2 separate regions of the Homo sapiens genome follow, and region 1 is linked to region 2. Evidence: promoter capture Hi-C in 16 types of primary human blood cells and fetal thymus (Javierre and others, 2016). All regions are on one chromosome and are shown on one strand. The core of a region is centred on a gene start or on the middle of the fragment in contact, and the rest is flanking DNA. Distances in the headings are between cores, read along the strand shown.

Region 1 (5,271 bases), core at 1,775-4,274, 150 kb before region 2:
ACCCTGGATGCCTCAGTCCCTGTGCAGGCCCTCAGCCCTCCACCACTTTGCAACCCAAACTCCAACCAAAGTTTTTTTATTTTAATATAGTCCAATGTATCCATTTTTAAATGGTTAGTATCTTCTGTGTCCTGTTTAAGAAATGCAAGGTCATGAAGATGTTCTCTGATGTTTTCCACTTCAAGCTTTACTCTTTTGTCTTTCACATTTAGTTCTGAGTCTAGGGAATGTCTTTAAATTTTGAATATTTGATTGTCATGTATTGGGCACCTATTATGAGCCAGGCATCCTGCTAGGCAGTTTGCTTTGATTAGCTCATAGCCGAAATTGCTGCTCCCATTTTACAGATGAGGCAATAGAGGCTTAGAGATCTGACTTGCTCAGTGGGCACTGCCAGCAAGAGGCAGTGCCAGGACTTGAACCCAGGATTGTCTGTGTCTTATTTAACCAGAGTTCTGTCCTAGTCCAAGAAGCAGGTCAGCTCCAGCAAAGGAACTCGGGACTTTGGCTGCCCAAGGAAGGTGGCTGAAGGATGATCCTTTTCCAGAGACCCTAGAGCTGCTTACCTTCTCAGGATACTAAACGTTGGTGAACACAAGGCCTGGGACTGGGACTGGTTTGATTCTCAAAATAGCTCAGGCCTGCAAAGCAATCTGATGGGGAGTGGGGGATAAAGAACTTCTCCCCAAATGCCCCATAATGTTTTTTGGAATCCACATGCCATGAACCTCATGCTGGGAAACTACTCCAAAGCTCCATGGTTTAGTGTGATGTTGGCAGTCAGTTGAGATCATCAGGATCTATCATGGCAAAGAGGTAACTGTCTTTTCCTATTCTACTGGTTTCTCTCGTCCTGCCTACTGAAGTAACATACTATGCTAATAGATTTCCTGATCTTAAATCATCCTTGCATTTCTGGAATAAGCCCTAGTATACTAATTTTAATACACTGCTACCCTGATGCTGGTTTTCCAAATGCCCTTGTAAATTCTGGGAAATGAAGGAATCTCTGAGGATCAGAGGACAAAATCCTATCACCTTTAATGTGCTCCAGAATCGAAAACCACAGGGCCATGCCTTTTGTAGGCCTCTGGCTTTGGGCCTGGGCAGCATGGTGAACAGTGAAGGAGCCATAATTGCTGTCCCACCAGAAAGGCCTAAAGGAGTTGGCAAAAGCATGCCCATCCAGTGTGACATTTACAGAGGTCAGGTGGCACCAGAATCCCTCATGGGTGTTTGGCGAAGGGATCTGTGGGGAGACCAGGAATCTGAGTGCGTTGTCAGGTGAGTGTTTATTGGGGAAATTTCTAGACGCTTTTTGCAGGACAGACATTCCAGAGTGTAGAGAAAAGGAGGATGGGGTTTAGAGATGGTTTGCTTCATAGCTGGGTTTCCCAATCCTCATGGCACCTCACGTGGCAGACTCACTTACCCCAATGCCCAACTGTACGGCCCCAGAGTAACGAAGGGACACACAGCTCCCCAGGATGGAGAGAGGATATCATATTATTCCCTGGTCTATGGAGTCAGAACCAGGTTCAAATCCTGTCTCCCTCCCCCCAACTAAAAATTGTCTTTGCGATCTTGGGCAAGTCACTTCACCTTCCTGAGCCTCAGTACCCTCATCTATTAAATCAGATTACTAGCACCTACCTCATAAAGCTGCTAAGATTTGTAAATTTTATCTTTTCAAAAAAACAACTTTTGGTTTCATTGATATTCTGTGTTGCTTTTCTGTTTTCTAGTTCGTTGATTTCTGCTCTCATCTTTATTATTTCCTTCCTCTACTTGCTTTGGGTTTTGTTTACTCTTTTTCTAGTTTCTTAACATGAAAGCTTAGGTTTTCAAGTCGAGGCCTTTCTTCTTTTCCTTTCTTCTTTTCTAATATAAGTATTTAAAGCTATGAATTTCCCACTAAGCATTGCTTTAGCTGAATTCCATAAATTTTGATACTATGTTGTGTTTTTTTTCATTCTGTTATACACACACACACACACACACACACACATTGTTTTGTTTTCTGAAGACAAAGGCTTCAAAAGGCTGGAGTGCAGTGGTGCAATCATAGCTCACTGTAACCTTGAACTCCTGGGCTCAAGCAGTCCTCCCACTTCAGCCTCCCAAGTAGCTGGGACTATAGGCATGCACCACCATACCCGGCTAACTTTTTATTATTTTTTTGTATATACAGGATCTCACTATGTTGCCCAAGCTGGTGTCAAACTCCTGGGCTAAGGCAATCCTCCCACCTTGACCTCCCAAAGTGTTGGGATTACAGGCATGAGCCACAGTGCCTAGCCTAAAATATATTTTTATTTTTATTGTGATTTCTTCTTTGACCTATAGATTATTTAGAAGCATGTAGTTTAATTTTTTTTTTTTGGGTCAGGGGGACAGAGTCTTGCTCTGTTGCCCAGGCTGGAGTGCAGTGGCACAATCTCAGCTCATTGCAACCTCTGTCTTCCAGGTTCAAATGATTCTCCTGCCTCAACCTCCCAAGTAGCTGGGATTACAAGCACATGCCACCACACCTGGCTAATTTTTGTATTTTTAGTAGAGACAGGGTTTTGCCATGTTGGCCAGGGTGGTCTCAAACTCCTGACCTCAAATGATCCTCCTGCCTCAGCCTCCCAAAGTGCTGGGATTCCAGGCGTGAGCCCACCACGCCCGGCCTAATTTCTAAGTAGTTGGGGTTTTCCCGGATAGTTTTCTATTTTGGATCTCTAATTCCATTGTGGTCAGAGAACATATTTTGTATGATTTAAATCTTTTTAAATCTATTGAGACTTGTTTTATGGCCCATATGTGGTCTATCCTGGAGAATGTCTCATGTGCACTTGAAAAGAATGCGTAATCTTCAGTTGGTGAAGGCTTCTATGAATGTCACACTGGTTGATAGCGTCATTCAAGTCTTCTGTATCCTGGCTGAGTTTCTAATTGCTTTGTCAGTTATTGAGATTGGGACATTAAAATCTCCACTATTATTGTTGAATTATCTATATCTTCTTTCAATTCTCCCAGTTTTTACTTCATGTTTTGGGGGACTTGTTAAGTGCATATATAATACATATATAGTTTTTATATCTTCCTAATATGTTGACTTTTTTGTCATTATGAAATGTCTTTGTCTCTAGAAATATATATCTTGCCTTAAAGTCTATTTTGCCTGATATCAGCATAACCACTCAAGCTGTTTGTATGCTATATCTCCTTCCATCCTTTTATTTTCAAACTATTTGTGTCTTTGAATCAGGTGTGTTTCTTGCAGTCAGCATACAGGTAGGTCTTGTCTTTTTATTTACTCTGACAATCTCTGCCCTTTAAGTGGAGTTATTAATCCATGCATACATCTTCCTTTTCTTTCTTTCTTTTTTTTTTTTTTTTTTTTGCTTTGGGTTTGGTTTTTTATTTTGTTATTTTTATTTTTTCCTGAATATGGATCATACTTTATAAGACAAAGAAACAAGAAAGTGTGATCCATTTGGATGGGCTCTTTCCAACAGTAGCAGGGAAGCTGCTGGTTTTCACAGACTGGGGAGCAGAGCTGGTGGGGAGGGGTATGGAGGCAGTCATAGGCAAGAACATTACAGGTTCACACTGTGCTTACCTGACATTCAGTCTTTTTCATACTAAGTGCTTCTCAGTTCGTTGTATGCCTTTGATCAATTTCCAGGAACTGCAATGGTACTTTGACAGTTTTGTCTAGCTTTATAGTTGCATGTATGGACTGCTAAATTATCTCCCTTAATCCTCACAGAAACACTCTGAGTGGTCATTACTCTTTTACAGATGAGGAAGCTAAGGTACGTAAGTATTAAATACCCTGGTCAGTGTCACTAAGCCAGGCTCTTAAACACTGCATTTACCACTTCTGGGTACATCCTCTCCCAGTAGCTTTTAGAGCAATGCAAGTAACACCCCCAAATCAGGATGATTATTCACAGCTACAACAGCAAGTAATGTAATGGTGACCTGCACATACCATAAGTTGGCTCATTCTCCCAAATCTGAATCACAGAGGGAATTTGTAAATTGGCTGTGTTGAATGATGCTAACTAGCACCAGAGAGCCAAAGAAGGAATGATTTCCTTTCCTTTTGAAGTTGAGCTACAGAGTGTCCCTGAGCTTCCTGGAGGCCAAAGCAAAACAGCAAAGTGGATCAGTTACATGATTCTCATGGTCTATGAGGAGAAAGTAGCTCTTTTGGAGAAAGAAAAGCTTTCCCTGGCCCTCATATCTTGGAGAAATTTATTACATGAGCCTTACCTAGGGATACTGAGAGGTATAGTGGACAATACCTGCAGCAACACGCTTATAATAAAGCTACTTTTTTTTTTTTTTTTGAAACAGAGTCTTATTCTATTGCCCAAGCTGAAGTGCAGTAGTGCAATCACAGTTTACCACAGCCTTGACCTCCCAAGTTCAAGTGATCCTCCCACCTCAGCCTCCCAATTAGCTGGGACTACAGGCACACGCCACCATGCCCAACTAATTTTGGTATTTTTTTAAGAGTCAGGATTTCACCATATTGCCCAGGGTGGTCTTGAGCTCCTGCGCTCAAGCAATCCGCCCACCTCAGGCTCCCGATGTGCCGGGATTACAGGTGTGAGCCACTGCTCCTGGCTGTGATAAAGCTACTTCTTAAGCTAGTCCCCTCAACACAGGCTCTGAGCATAAGGCAAAGCCCAACTCCAGGAAGCTCATTCTTGGGAAGGAGGCTCAGTCACTGTGGCCTAGGAACACAGCTCTAGGCTGGTTGAACTTGTTCCAAGGACTAAAACCTTTACTGTGCAGAGCAGCCTGTGGATGACATGGCCTTCACACAATCCTTTGTAAATATTCTCTCTCCCCTGGGTGGGATAGCTGATGAAAATTCGCAGCATTCATGAATTTAACATTTTACATGTCAATTATTCACTAGCTTCCTGGAAAGTCCATATTATAGTCAAAGGTCATTTTTCTGAGCCATGATTTTGAGTAGCAAAATGCAAGCTGGGGTGTGGGAGCAAATCCCCTAGCCGGTAGGTGGGCCCAGCCAGCCCCCCAGAATCTGCTTCTCAACCCAATTCCACTGTCTCCTACTTATCAGGCATGCACAGTAACTCCACTGGCATTATATTATATATATAAAAGCCTCTGGGCTCTTTGTGGAAAATGGCCCAAGAGCCAACTCTAGATGGTGATGGAAGAGAAGAGAATATGAGCAGGTTGAGTCCAGTCATTATTCTAGCAAGAAAATGAGAGCTTGGTGTGGGTTCAAGTGGAATGTTT
Region 2 (4,952 bases), core at 314-2,813:
GCAGAGTTCTTATGAACGGCAGTGGGATGGTTGTCAGTTAAGGCTGCTGGGCTGCTGTTTTGTAGTCACAGAGTGCTCTGGTGAGAAATGGTAGAGGAACAGTGTGCTTCTTTGTGTCCTTATGTGGTTGGACGCAGTCTTTATTTATTTTTTTTTTTATTTTTTGAGACAGAGTCTTGCTCTGTCGCCCAGGCTGGGGTGCAGTGGTGTGATTTTGGCTCACTGCAACCTATGCCTCCCGGGTTCAAGCGATTCTTGTGCCTCAGCCTCCTGAGTAGCTGAGATTATAGGCACGGTGCCACCACGCCCAGCTAATTTTTGTATTTTTAGTAGACACGGGGTTTCACTATATTGGCCAGGCTGGTCTCGAACTCCTGACCTCGTGATCCACCCACCTCAGCCTCCCAACGTGCTGGGATTACAGGCATGAGCCACAGCGCCTGACCTTCTATTTTTTATTAAACAAAACATCTTGCCCTTGTTGGCAAAGCACCCTATGAAATATAAAATGAAGTCTTTTTCTAAGATGGAGTTAGTTATGTCAAGGGTGCGCAGTACTGTGCCATAAGCTCTCCCCCGGCTGCCCAGAGAGAAAACCTAAGGGCCTCTTAAAGACACCATCACAGCAGTTCAGCGGGGAGCAGGCAGGAATGGTTTCGGATCTAGTGGTGGTGAGAAGTAGACAGAGATCAGAGAAAGTTATAGGAGGTGAAAGTGGGAGGACCTTGGTTACAGACTGCCGGTGAAGAGGGACAAGGACAACCCGCAGGTCTCCGCTAGTCAGGTGGAAGGAAAGGAGGGGGCAGTGCCCTTCGCAGAGGCACAGGAAGCTGGGTCTTGATCACGCTGAACTCCAGACGCTCTCTAGATGTGCACGCATGTGCGTGTGGAGTGTGTGTGTGTGTGTGTGTGAGAGAGAGAGATGTGTTGGGGTGGGGGGACTGCAGGTCAGGAAGTCCTGCAGATGTGCGTGCCTGTGTGTGTTTGCGCGCGCGCGCGCGTGTGTGTGTGTCTGTGTGTGTGCCTGGAGCTGCGCTTGCAGGTCTGAGAGTCCTCTGAGAATGGGTTGGGGGAGGCGGGTGCAGGACCGAGGCCTGGAACAGCCAACAAAGAGGCCCTGGAGGAGGGTGGGGCTGGCCGGGGACAGGAGGGGTGGCCAAGAAAGTCGCAAGAAAACTCCGGCCCCCAAGAAAAAGAGAGGGCATGGGTTGCGGAGCCGACATCACGGCCGGGGTCTTTGCTGTTTAGACGCCTGGGTTCCCGGATCCCAGACACGCGCACGGGCAGGAAGTTAGACCGGAGACAGCGAGTATAGACAGCCCTTCTGGATAGGGGCAGACGGGTGGGAGCTCCGAAGGGGTGCCGGGGCGGTGATCGGGAGGTCTCCAGCGGCCCGAACCAGGGTGAAGAAGAAGGTGGAGTCTGCGGAGGCCCCAGGCCGGGGAGGGGGCGGGTCGGGCCCAGCATCCCCCGCAGCCGGGGTCCGAGGGGGAGGGGCGGGCTGGAGGAGCGGGTGGGGGCGGGGCGGGGCGTGGCGGCGGGGGATGCGCCCCTGCGCGAGCCAGTGTCGCCTGCCCTCCTTCCGCACAGCCCGGGTTTCCGCTTCCCTCCGGGCGCGAGAAGAGGGGAGCCAGGCCGAGCCCCGGCCCTACCGCCGCCGCCGCCATGTGGCCCCCAGACCCCGACCCCGACCCGGACCCCGAGCCTGCCGGCGGCTCCCGTCCCGGCCCCGCGGTCCCCGGGCTCCGCGCCCTGCTGCCGGCGCGGGCTTTCCTCTGCTCTCTCAAAGGCCGCCTCCTGCTGGCCGAGTCGGTGAGTGCGGCGGGACCCTCGGCCGCCCCGCTAGGACTGCGCGGCTCCTTTCGGAGGAGGACGTCGGGGCGCGGGTGGGGTCCGGGGGCGGCCGCCGTGCTCCGATACCCCCTCTCCGCGCCGCCTCGGCCGACTTCTCTCGGGCGCCTGGCGAAGTTGGGTCGAGGTCCCCAAACTTTGGACGGCGGGGCGGGGCCCGAGCCCAGGCCATCCGCGGCGCTGTCCCCGCGAGTCCAGAGCTGGGGGCCGTGGGAAGTGGGTGGGGCCCGGGGATGTGGGTCCTGCTGTGTGAGCCAGGCGCCCCCGCCCTCTCTGGGCCCCGGGGACTCGGGCAACTCGGACCTCCGGGACTCCCGGGCCGCAGCGGGGTCCGCTTTCCTGCGAGCGGGTAGTGCGGGCCGGGGCCTCGACCTGCGGGGCCGAGCCGGCGGGGGGCCGTGCGGAGCGGGAGGGATCCCCCACCCCCGGGACTGGGTGAGGCGGCCCCGCGGTGACTTCATCGCCCTCCTCCCCTCCGCGGCCGGGCTCCTTCCTACTCCGCCCTCGCCCCCACCCCGGCCGGTGGGGCTTCTTTGTCCTCTGGACACCGGAGGCGCCCGCACTGTCCGCTGTGGGGTAGGGGTGGCGCTGGGCCGTTGGGGATGGGGAGGGAGAGGCCGGGCCGGAGACCGGGGGAGGCGGGAGGAGAGAGCGGCGCACGGCGGCGGCCACTTGTTGCTTAGATCCCAGGAACTTGGCGCTTCCTGCCCTTGTCCCCACTTTACAGATGAGAGCGCTCAGGCGCCTGATTTGACAGGTGGCTCAACTGAGGGGCCCAGTGAGAGCGGCCAGGAGGGTGGGGGCAGGAGGAAGGGGGATTCTGCTCCGGGACCTCTCCCTGGTCACTCAGGGCAGAGGGCAGAAGGTGGTCCTGCAGCCTCTCCCACGGTCAGCCCAGAGGCCACCTGCCCAACGCCCAAGTGAGACACCAATGCCACACTCCGAGCCCACACTCCCAGCCCCACCCTGGAGACCACTGGGAGCCACTTGAGGGGAGAAGCCTCGAATCCACCGTCCCCAGAGTGGCTTGAACCCCCCCATCCCCACCCAAGACCACCTCATAAGAGGGAGGCATATGTCCAGCAGGAGCATAGAGGCCACCCTGGGCCCAGCAGATGTCAGGAATCCAGGTCAGGGAGGATAAGGAAGGGTGAACGGTCAGCACTCAGGGTTCACAGGAGCCGCTGAGGGCACTCCTGCCTCCCTAGTCCCCTCACTCCCACCCCCAGGCCAAGCAAGTGCAGAGGCTGAGATGGACAGAAACAGAGAGAGGAAGTGGCCCCAGAAATCGCGGGATGAAAAAACAGGAATTGAGAGGGGAATCCCCAGAATTAGGCTTTGGGGTGCAGGCATAGGAGACAGGAAGGGGAGGGCCAGAGCTGGGTCAGTCCCATGGAAGGCCTTCCTGGGAGGCCCCAGCAGCCTCCCAGCCCGTCTCTATGCCTTAGTCTATCTTTCCAAAGGGGGCTCAGCTGCACCCAAGGCCATGTGCAGAGCAAATGGGGGTGCTCTGGGGACCCCCTGGGATCCCTGCAGTTCATTTGTCTGAAGCAGCCACAGTGCTTCCTGTGGGGCATCTGGGTGTCCCCATGGGGACTCCTGCACCCACTAGAAACTACTCAGCCATAGACATGTTCAAACGCAGCCACAGTGACAGAAACCAGGGACAGATGGCCTCCCCAACACCCACAGGGCCAAGTTGCTTAAGAACTCTACCTGGGCCGGGCGTGGTGGCTCATGCCTGTAATCCCAACACTTTAGGAGGCCGAGGTGGGTGGATCACCTGAGGTCAGGAATTCGAGACCAGCCTGGCCAGCATGGTGAAACCCTGTCTCTACTAAAAATAAAAAAATTAGCTGGGTTTGGTGGCGGGCGCCTGTAATCCCAGCTACTCGGGAAGGCTGAGGCAGGAGAATCACTTGAACCCCGGAGGTGGAGGTTGCAGTGAACTGAGATCGTGCCACTGCACTCCAGCCTGGGAGACGGAGCAAGACTCCATCTCTGGGGCGGAGGTAAGATAACTCTATCTGGGGGGTCAGCCAGCCCTGGGTTCAAATTCTAGTAGCCTCTGATTAGCCATGTGACAGAGTCTTCTCATCTGTCAAGTGGGGCTGTGCTCATGGGTGGATGTGAGGGTCAGAGGAGATGCCCGTGAGCCTCAGGGTACCAGGCACTGTGGAGCCCCAGGCTGGCCAACAGGTCACCTTGGCCTGCTCTGCAGCGTACCTGGGCTGCAGGACTGCCCAGGGCTCAACATCCTCCTGCATCAGCTCTTCCCACCTACAGAGTTGTGGGCAAGACCACAGTGAACATTTTGATTCTTGTAGTTCAAGTACAGCTGGCCCCACCTTTCACAGCTGGCCCTGTATGAATAAGGCAGCAGGGCCTGAGGTGTCAGTGCCAACGCACCCTCTGTTAGATGTTCCTTTCTTATCATTATGAAAATTTGCAAATACATTAAAACTCCAAAAGATTTTTTTGCTTTATCTATCTGTCCATCAAGGCATTTTATCTTTTAACACAAAATAAATTGCAGACATCAGGACATTTCAACTCTGAACACTTCAGGACGCATATCATTAAGGTTCAAGGTTTTTTCTTTTCAAGGTGAAATCTACATTCAGTGACGAGCACACGTCTTTGGTGTTGGGTGTTACTTTTTGGAAACTGGTTCCTGCCTCGCTTTGATTTCCCTCCGCAGGGCACTGAGTGGAGTGCATGTGCTTGGAAGGCTGGGGCTTTCTGACTAGGTCCTGTCAGGGAGCTGGGGTGGGGTAAGGTGAGGACTCAGGGCCATGCCCAGGACTGGGAGGCAGCATAGGTGTGAGCCTGGGCCATGCTGGGTTTTTTTTTTTTGTAGGGGCGGGTGCGGACAGGGTCTCTCTCTCTCTCACCCAGGATGGAGTGCAGTGGCCTGATCACAGCTCACTGCAGCCTCGACCTCCCCGGGCTCAGGTGATCCTCCCACCTCAGCCTCCCAAGTAGCTGGGATTTCAGGCACACACCACCATGCCCGGCTAATTTTTGTATATTTTGCCGAGATGAGGTTTTGCCATGTTGCCCAAGCTGGGGTCAAATTTCTGGGCTCAAGCAATCCACCT

The links. The method cuts DNA at HindIII sites, captures the fragments that hold promoters and counts their contacts. A CHiCAGO score of 5 or more calls a contact.
Region 1: a fragment that was not itself captured here is called in contact with the fragment with the promoter of CMTM3 in region 2 in 2 of 17 cell types (total B cells and total CD8 T cells); the score reaches 5.2 in total B cells.

Annotation. Positions count from the first base shown.
Region 1 is chr16:66,451,362-66,456,632 of GRCh38, forward strand. The region is part of intron 2 of BEAN1 (brain expressed associated with NEDD4 1); the gene reads left to right. It also overlaps the pseudogene LOC107984807. Among named protein-coding and RNA genes, the nearest start is that of BEAN1-AS1, 22 kb to the right of the region's middle. The HindIII fragment of the contact is 2,383 bases long and covers 1,834-4,216 here.
Region 2 is chr16:66,603,141-66,608,092 of GRCh38, forward strand. CMTM3 (CKLF like MARVEL transmembrane domain containing 3) reads left to right here and starts at 1,564. Exons shown (of 5, transcript NM_181553.4): 1 at 1,564-1,812. The coding sequence starts at 1,666. It also overlaps a transcript of CMTM4 not described here. RefSeq lists silencers at 1,449-2,288, 2,349-2,568. The HindIII fragment of the contact is 16,414 bases long and covers 1-4,952 here.